Linked DNA regions of Homo sapiens: regions 1 and 3 are each linked to region 2. The links are contacts of gene promoters, found by promoter capture Hi-C in human tissues and cell types (Jung and others, 2019). All regions are on one chromosome and are shown on one strand. Each heading gives the region's core, a stretch centred on a gene start or on the middle of the fragment in contact. The rest is flanking DNA. Distances are from core to core; before and after follow the strand shown. Region 1 holds the start of GALNT8 (polypeptide N-acetylgalactosaminyltransferase 8). Region 2 holds the start of FGF6 (fibroblast growth factor 6). Region 3 has its middle 47 kb from the start of LINC03141.

Region 1 (2,808 bases), core at 176-2,675, 270 kb after region 2:
GTTTTGAGTCTAATTTGCAAGTGGGAGGCTGGGAGACATTTTCTATCCCTGCGAAACAGAAGAAGTGATTCCTTTTCATTTTGTTCATTTTCATCCTGTTTTTCCTAAAGCCACATTACTTTCCTTTAATCCACATGTCCGCCTCAGCACATGTCACCATGTGCTGTGTTTGGGACGTAGTAAATAGTCCAAAGAGCCAGGCCGGGGTGGAAGCTGTGATTTTGACGGGATTGACAGTAGACTGAGAACTTTGAACTTTTAGCCTTGGGGAACAATTTTATGTGTTTATTCTACAATGATGATCACTGGTGATTTGTCCAAAACATATTATAAGTGTGAGGTGTGGAGGCAAAGGAGTTACTGGAAGCTGGGGCAGGGCAGAAGCCCAGTGTATGAAGTTGTGCAGAGGACAAGCAAAGGACAGAGACCAGTGAATCGGAGTCATCCCCTGAGGCTCAACCCCGGGCACCGCCTCCAGCTCTTCTCCACCTGCTTCTAGGCAGTGAAGTCCTAGGAACTAGCAAGAAAGTCTGTCCTTAAGTTTGTGGGACAAGCATTTGTTGCACACCTACTATGTCCAAAACCCTGTAGAGTTAGGTAAAAAGACATCTTAGATCCCAGCTCTCCAAAAAAGCAAGGATCTAAGTGTACAGAGACTTCTTGCTTCGTGATTTCTTCTTCATCCTATTTATCCCCTTCTTATACCCACAGGACCAGACCTCACATGCCCTATCAGAGTCTCCCAGGTGGTTTTTCCAGGGAGAGAGAACATTAAACATCAAACAAACATATATAGAGAAAAGCCTCTCACCCAGGCAGCCTGAGCTAGCTGCAGGAGCAAGCATTCTTCTGACTTCTGAGACAGTACAAGGTGTGTCCAGGTGACTTACCTGTCACTGGGCAGCTGCCATGCGCACTCCTCACACCTGACGCTGCTCAGGGAGAAGCCAGGCAGCTATAATAGTGTTCTTGGCCGGAGAACATCTGGCCTAGCAGGCAGGGTGTCATCTATGAAGCTGGGTGGAGAGAAAGCTGTTGGGGAAACCAGCCCCACACCACCCAGCGGATACCCCGAGTCCGGCGGAGACAAAGGAGTTAGAAAGAGACAGAACAAGCGTTTAAAAGGCAGGTCCAGGGGACCAGAGCGTTGGAGGCTTGCTCACGGCCCAGAGCTCTGGGCTCCACCCAATTTATTGGTTTACAAGCTCTTTGTTCTTAGGGCAGATGGGAAGGGGAGGAAGGGATGAGGAAAAGGATTAATCAGTGAGTCATTCGATAAGATGTGTAACAGTGGCGGTTTCTGTGAATTTCCTTGAGCAAAGGCGTGTGTCTAAACTACTTAAGATCTTTAATGACTGAAATGGGTGGGAGTGGGTTTCAGGAGGAGCCAAGATGTTTGATTATACTCCTCTGCTTCAAGGGAGTGTTATCTCCCTGAGCAACCTGTGGAAAGCCGCTGAGCAACCTGTGGAAAGCCGCTGAGCGGTTATCCTCTCGGGGCATAAAGACAAAGAAGGCAATAAGGAGACTTTGCTCCTCAGAGGCCACCCGTGGCTTCCCATGGGTGTCTCACACAGGGGAGACCAACTCAACTGGCACCTAGAACTCTCTTTCCCACAAAAGCTAGGCTGGTTCTGATTCTTAACCTGCTCCAGCAGTGACACACTCAGTCCCACAGGGAGTGGACGACCCCCAGGAAGAAGATGATGTTTTGGAGGAAACTCCCCAAAGCCCTCTTCATTGGGCTGACTCTGGCCATTGCTGTCAATCTCCTTCTGGTATTTTCTAGCAAGGGGACTTTACAAAACCTGTTTACGGGTGGTCTCCACAGGGAGCTTCCTTTACATCTGAATAAACGCTACGGGGCAGTGATAAAGAGACTCTCCCACTTGGAGGTGGAATTGCAGGATCTGAGTAAGTTTACAATGCTAACCTGGAAGGTGTGTGTGTGGGTGTGTGTGTTTGGGGCACTTAGGAAAAAGGGATATGGAAGGAAAAATGGGTGAGAGGTCACATTTTCATCTCAGTCGCTCATTGAAGCATCTGACACTGAATTCTGTGCCTTCAAATGGGAGATGGGTATTGAGAATGAAGTGAGTAGAAGTGGAAATTAGAGCAAGCAGTATGGGGGAGGTGAGCATGTGTGTGTGTATGCGTGTGTGGGCTTGTGCACATGCATTATCATTATATCTACATATGTGCAGGCAACGAGAAGAATAAGAATCCCAAGGGCCATAGACCTGTCCTTAGGCCTATTGAAGGGGTGGGTTGCACCTCCACACCTGTGGGTGTTTCTCGTTAGGTGGAACGAGAGACTTTGGAAGAGAAAAAGACACAGAAACAAAGTATGTAGAGAGAAATAAGGGGGCCCAGGGGACCAGCGTTCAGCATACGGAGGATCCCGCCAGCCTCTGAGTTCCCTTAGTATTTATTGATCATTCTTGGGTGTTTCTCGGAGAGGGGGATGTGTCAGGGTCATAGGATAATAGTGGAGAGAAGGTCAGCAGATAAACACGTGAACAAAGGTCTCTGCATCATAGACAAGGTAAAGAATTAAGTGCTGTGCTTTAGATATGCATACACATAAACATCTCAATGCCTTAAACAGCAGTATTGCTGCCCGCATGTCCCACCTCCAGCCCTAAGGCGGTTTTCTCCTATCTCAGTAGATGGAATATACAATCGGGTTTTACACCGAGACATTCCATTGCCCAGGGACGGGCAGGAGACAGATGCCTTCCTCTTGTCTCAACTGCAGAAAGGCGTTCCTTCCTCTTTTACTAATCCTCCTCAGCACAGACCCTTTAC
Region 2 (3,189 bases), core at 687-3,186:
TGGTTTCCGTTTAAGCACACGGGCTCCGGCCGGCAGGTGGGAACAGAAGAAGCACGGGCCAGGGCAGAGGACAATCACCCGTGAGGCTGAAGAAGCACAAGCTGCAAGGCCCCTCCCTTTCACAGGCTCCTCTCACAGCCTTTCCTTTCCCATTTAGATAGTCACTTCTCTACTCAGGACTTCATATTATTTTCTTCAACTGTGTAAGCATCAAGCCTTGTAAACCTGGCACTTCCCCGGCCTGGTGAACTCACCGTTGCGTACAATCTTCCTTTACTGTTCATGGCAACGAAGAGGGCACTTCTCACTCCAAAGAGACTCACCACGCCTCGCTCCACAGTGGAAATTTCCAGCAGGCCTGACAAGGAAAGGGGGGCCACATTACCTAAGGCTTGTGCAAATCAGAGTGGGAACTTGAGCCGACAAGGGCATCTCAGTCCATCCCCCTTCTCCTAGAAAGCCAGACTCTCCATTGCCCCATCCATGATCCCTCTAACTCTAGGAGACCCTGGCTGCTGGACTCATCGAGTGCTGCCATTGTGCTGTTAGAAATCCAGTTCTGCAAGGGAAGGTTCTGATAGCAGAGTTAGGGGCTGCAGTGACCACTTAGCTATCTGTTTAAGATGAGCTTTGAATCTGGGCTTTCAGTGACATAATTACTTGAGGTCCTTGACTTGAGTAAAAAAATAAATTCTGATTCTTCTTCTTCTTCTTAATGTGTACTCTACATGTTTCAACAAATCTCAACCCACTTAATCTTGAAAACACAGCAGCCACACCATAGCTGATGGCTTTCTTGGATCCTGCAGCCCCCATCCTTTCTTGGATAGGAGACTAACCATACAGCAAGCTGGCAGCTTGCAGGCAGCTTGCAGGATAAGAACCTGGGGACAGAGGGAGCCGCTGAAATAAAAAGAAGGATGTGCTTCAGTTGGACATTTTGCAATTGAATTTCCCTTCCTTCTCCAAGAAAGAAGCTGAATAAAAATGAGCTTGTGTCAAATTTGATCCAAGTATACTAACTGATTCTCCCTACCCAGGCCTTGGGGGCTTCCCAGACTAATGGTTCCTAATGGTCTTACAAGGCATCAGATGGGCCAGTAATGCTGAAATAGTTAGTGCCACTGAGGATCTAACCAAGGCGATGGCAAAGAACACCAGGATGCTTGGACCGCAGTATATTGAGCTTGCACCCAGGCAGGGTCACGTGGAATCATCTAAGTGGTGAGCAGCATTTCTGCCCCCTTTATCGTGCATCCTGTCCGCTAGAGCAGGGCCCCTTCACCTTTTAGCCCTGCATGAGCCCAAACCCCCAAGCGTCCCGACTGGCTGCAGCTGGCACTCACTGTAGGGGTTCTCCTCGTGGGTCCCGCTGATCCGGCCGTCGGGGAGCACCTGGAGGTGAAAGCCGATGCCCACGTTGCAGTAGAGCCTCCGCTGCCGCTTGATCCCCACCAAATAGCCACTTTCCCAGTTCACCCCGGCAATCTCTCCAGCTAGCCCGGCGCGAGACCTGGACAGCAGGGTGCCCCAGCCCCTCGAGTCCAGCAGCGTGTTGTTGGCACGGGTGCCTGCAGGCGAGGGCACCACCATGCCCACTAGGATGCCTAGGAAGACGAGAGCCCACAGCGTGCCCTGCAGACGTCCTGCTCCCCGGGACATAGTGATGAACAGTTTCTGTCCCAGGGCCATCCACCTTGCCTCTCAGGCACGTGGTCAGAATTAATGGCCCTAAAAATACCGCCCTTCTTGTTTTTCTCCCTCCGGCATGGCGGCAGGGGCTTATTTTTGGAAGGCAGATGAAGGCTGCTGACATGAAACCAAAGCCTCCATCGGGCACTCGGGTTGAGAGCAGAGGGACCCAGGCTGAGCCGCGGCCGGTAGAGACCATGGCTCGGGGACGCTCTCTAGCTCGCCCGCTTGCTCCGTCCCTAGTTGATGATATTTGATTTGACCTATCTTTATAGTTGCTTCAGCAGCCCGGCCCTCCCCTCCACCCATCATCGCCCTGACGTCAACCCGCCCAGCTCACTTATCCAGGGCTGTAACATTAACCTGCTCTTGGGCCTGGCTGCCTCCCCAGACCCCCATCACCCTCCACACTCCCCAGGGGTTCTGGGAGCCACTGTCATTCCAACTATGAGGCAGGAATGAAGTGAGCAGGGAGCATCTCTGGGGGAGGGGGGAGCTGGCTGGGGGCCCAGGGAAAGAGAGAGGCGAGAGGCCACCCAGGACCCATATTGGGCAGAAGTTCTTTGCCTGGCAGCGCTGGCTTCCTTATTTAGAGGGCAATAGGTAGAGGCAGGGATGGGAAAAGGCTTGTGGTAGTGATGACCGTAGCCTCAAGTCACCCTTGAGATCTTTTCATGGAAACAGCTCATGGTGGAGGGGAACACTGAAAGGCCAAACCCTTTCAGCAGGAGGGCACAGACATTCTCAGGGGGTGGGGATGGGGGTTGTTCAAGGAGCTTTAAGATTGTGGAGGGAAGGAGGGCAAGGGCAAGGTTTGCCTGCTCACTGTCCTGGTCCCGACATTCACCTGGGGTGGAAGTTGTGTCTGGCCTTTGACACAGCCCCCTGGCCATTCTCCCTGGATTTATCCCTGGCATGTGACTGATATTATTCCCATTTCACAGATGAGGAAGTTGAGGCTTAGAGAGGATAAATGACCTGCCCGAGTTACCATAGCTAATAAGTAGCAAAGCCAGAACTTCTAAGGTGTGCCTGAGTCTAAAGCCTGTGCATGTCTAATGCTTGCAGTAGAAGTTGGCTGGCCCATAGAGTCTGTTTAGCTCCTTAAATGCCAATAGCACATCACAGAGTTATTTCAGTAGCATAAAATGATTTATTTCTTAAAAAAAACTTGAGTGTCTTTGATGTACATGAGAACTTCTATATTTGCAGATAACTTTTGCTGGGCTGATATTACACTCAGAAACTAGTAAAAATATTTCTGCCAGGAAGTTATTCCTACACTGATTTATCTTATTCCCATATTACTTTTAAATAGATTACATGTCTAACTGAAGTGAGAAAAAAAATGTAAAGCTACCAGAAAACTCACTGCACAAATTTCTATACAATATAAGACAGAACTATTAATACGTCTCTGAGGGTGAATAAGTTAACAAGGGTCGCTGGGGAATTGAATTAACTTGAGTTAAAAATCCTGTTTCTTGTACTTCAATC
Region 3 (2,847 bases), core at 175-2,674, 480 kb before region 2:
CTCAATTTCCTCATCTTTAAAATGAGAGAAGACAACAGTGCCTACTTCTAAGAGTTTTTATAAGAAGTAAACATATATATATATATATATTTACTACACACACACACACACATATGTAAAGTACTGAGGACCGGCTATGGTGGCTCATAACTATAATCCCAATTCTTTGTGAGGTCAAGGCAGGAGGATCAATTGAAACCAGCCTGAACAACATAGGGATACTCTATCTCTACAAAAATTGTGAAAAATTAGCCAGACGTGTTGGTGCGCGCCTGTAGTCTTGGCTACACGGGAGGCTGAGGTGGGAGGATTGTTTGAGCCCAGGAGTTGGAGGCTGTAGTGAGCTATGATTGTGCCACTGCACTCCAGCCTGGGCAATAGAGTAAGACTCTGTCTCAATCAATCAATCAATATAAAGTGCTTAGAATGGCATCTGGCTTATAGTGCTCCTTAAGCATTAGTGATTATTATTAGAAAACTTGACCCCACTTCACAATCTAATAAAATTTAACCTTGAGTAGGATACCGAGTTTTAATATATGCATTGCTATCCACTGACAGCCAGGAAGCTTCATGAAGCAAGAATAGCACCAGCAGGCTGTGGCCCACACTGAGACGGGATGGGCACCATTTGTCTCCTTCATTCCTGAAGCGCCCCAGCTTGGGCCAGGCACCCTTGTTGGGACGGTGAGTGGTGGAGAGATTTATTTAGATGAAGGGGGAAAGCCCATGGAGGCTGAAAAAGGAAAGTCTGGAAAGAAGCGAGGATTTAATCTAAGCAATTTCTTCCCCAACAGCTATCATTTGCAGCCGGGCTTGTGGGACCGCTTGGGCGCCATTTTGACCACTAGAGGTCAGTGAATGTTTACTCTCCCCAAAGTGTGGGTCTCCAGGAGAGGCGATGTCCGTAGATCACCCGTAGTACCTCTCCATCCCTCTCCACCACCGCCCCTTTTGTGGACCTGGGTTTGGTTTGATTTTCCAGGAGTCTAAGTCATCCACAATTTTCTCCTGTTCCTTCCAGAACCAGGTTAGCCTTTGCAGGGCAAGGCTCTGGGCCAAGGGTGGAGAATATGATATGTGTCCAGAGATCACTTTTTCCTCTAAAGCCCACAGGCTCAAATGCTCAAGACTGTCAGTGGCACTCATTTTATAACAAACGCAGTCTAAACTCTTCCAGGTCTGCTAACTCTCATCCTTCCACCACGGCATTACATCTTGTCATCTCTCCCCAACTCCGCTCACCTCTTTCCCAATCATGTATCCCTCTGTAGGACTCCTTCCTGTTTTCCAAGGCATGCATCAAACACTATAATTCTCCATTCTAGAAATCCTATAATACATTGTCTCTCTCCTATACTGGTTACATGTACGCATTATAGTATGTACATACTACTGCAGATGACAATTGTTTTTGTCTTAGCTCATCTGCTAGACTGAGCTCCCTGAGGCCTCGGACTATGAATTATTCATTTTTAGTGTATTCATAGTTCCTGGTGCAAATGTGATGTTAACAACTATTTGCTGAATGAACATATTTTTCATTACAGTCAACTGACTCCCTGGCTTAAACTGGTATGTGAGAACCTCTGTGCAGAAAGAGATCTGTATGCTTCCCAGAGGCGATCCATGCCAGCCTCTGCCTCAAGGCAAGCTGTGCCTAGGTTTCCCACACTGCTGGTGCTCCCCGTGGCCATGTCCTCTTCCTTCAGACAATCAGATTTCATTTTCCAGCCTCCCTTGCCATGAGAGGTCATCATGTGACTAAATCACAGCCAATGGAAAGGGAGCAAAGTCATGTATACTTTGTTCCAGCCTGACCCGTAGAAACCAATACTGTTTCATTCCCAATCTCTTTCCCCCTTTGGACCTAGAGAAGGCACAGCCATGAGAGGAAAGGTGCCTGCATCCCTACATGACCACAAGCAAAGCCTATCTGCTGACCACGAGCGAGAAATTAACTCTTTAATAGTTCACAAGAAACAGACTACAGGAAGGCCACAGGAAGGATGGGACCTTGGAGGAATTCAAAGGTCAGGGATTTTTTTTTCCCATTCACTGTGGCAAAACATATAAATCACAGAACTTTAGAGCAAGAAGGCGTGGATCCAGCCCAGAATTTTAACAGATGAACAAATTGAGGGCGAGAGTGGTAAGGCAACTCACCCAAGGTCACACAGTTACTTGGTAGCATAAAGAAGACTAGAATGTCAGTTTTCTTCCCGTTCTGTATACCATGTCCTGAAGGCTGCCCCAGAACGAGCAGAGTGCTGCTGAGTGGTGTGGCCAACCCTGAAAGGCTGCTGTGAAAATGTTCAACAAAGGTGTTAAGTCTCCATATCATAAGAAAAAAGAATGGTTCATAGGTTTGGGCCACCAGGATGAAAACTAAGATCAAAATATTAAGCCAAGTTCAGCAGGAATTATGGCTGGAATACACAAGGAGTTAGGGAGAACAGAAGAGAAATCAGCTGAAGAAATAGGGCTCCTGAAAATGTCCTTTGGCTCTGTTTGACCCAGCCCCTTGACCTAAGGAGCATAATGACTCAAAGTGTTTTGATATTTGTTATAATTGCTTGTGGCATGGGGCTGCAATCCTCACAAAGAGAACTACTGGCTATACAACTGATGGGTACAGACATCAACAATGACATGGCTGGGCAGAAATCCAAGAGCACACATAGATCATACAACAGAGATCAGAAAGACAAGTCATGATATAGTACAGTACTAGCATCTTTAAAGGTGTCAGAGATAACTGAGGCATTTGGGTTTTTAAAAAGTGAGGATAAGCACTGAGACCTCAGGCATCTCGGGTATTCTTCAGAATCATCTCTTTTAAGGAAA

The links. Contacts are between HindIII fragments. The study calls those that stand out against the background at their distance.
Region 1: the fragment with the promoter of GALNT8 here is called in contact with the fragment with the promoter of FGF6 in region 2 in 1 of the 25 tissues and cell types used here (liver).
Region 3: a fragment that was not itself captured here is called in contact with the fragment with the promoter of FGF6 in region 2 in 2 of the 25 tissues and cell types used here (H1 embryonic stem cells and aorta).

Annotation. Positions count from the first base shown.
Region 1 is chr12:4,718,975-4,721,782 of GRCh38, forward strand. It overlaps GALNT8 (polypeptide N-acetylgalactosaminyltransferase 8), which reads left to right and starts at 1,426. Exons shown (of 11, transcript NM_017417.2): 1 at 1,426-1,914. The coding sequence starts at 1,704. GAU1 (GALNT8 antisense upstream 1) reads right to left here and starts at 1,128. Exons shown (of 4, transcript NR_110112.1): 1 at 891-1,128. RefSeq lists enhancers at 547-1,542, 1,543-2,538, 2,539-2,808. The HindIII fragment of the contact is 21,668 bases long and covers 1-2,808 here.
Region 2 is chr12:4,443,879-4,447,067 of GRCh38, forward strand. It overlaps FGF6 (fibroblast growth factor 6), which reads right to left and starts at 1,937. Exons shown (of 3, transcript NM_020996.3): 1 at 1,347-1,937; 2 at 255-358. The coding sequence starts at 1,692. The HindIII fragment of the contact is 16,147 bases long and covers 1-3,189 here.
Region 3 is chr12:3,963,760-3,966,606 of GRCh38, forward strand. No RefSeq gene overlaps it. Among named protein-coding and RNA genes, the nearest start is that of LINC03141, 47 kb to the right of the region's middle. The HindIII fragment of the contact is 4,388 bases long and covers 1-2,847 here.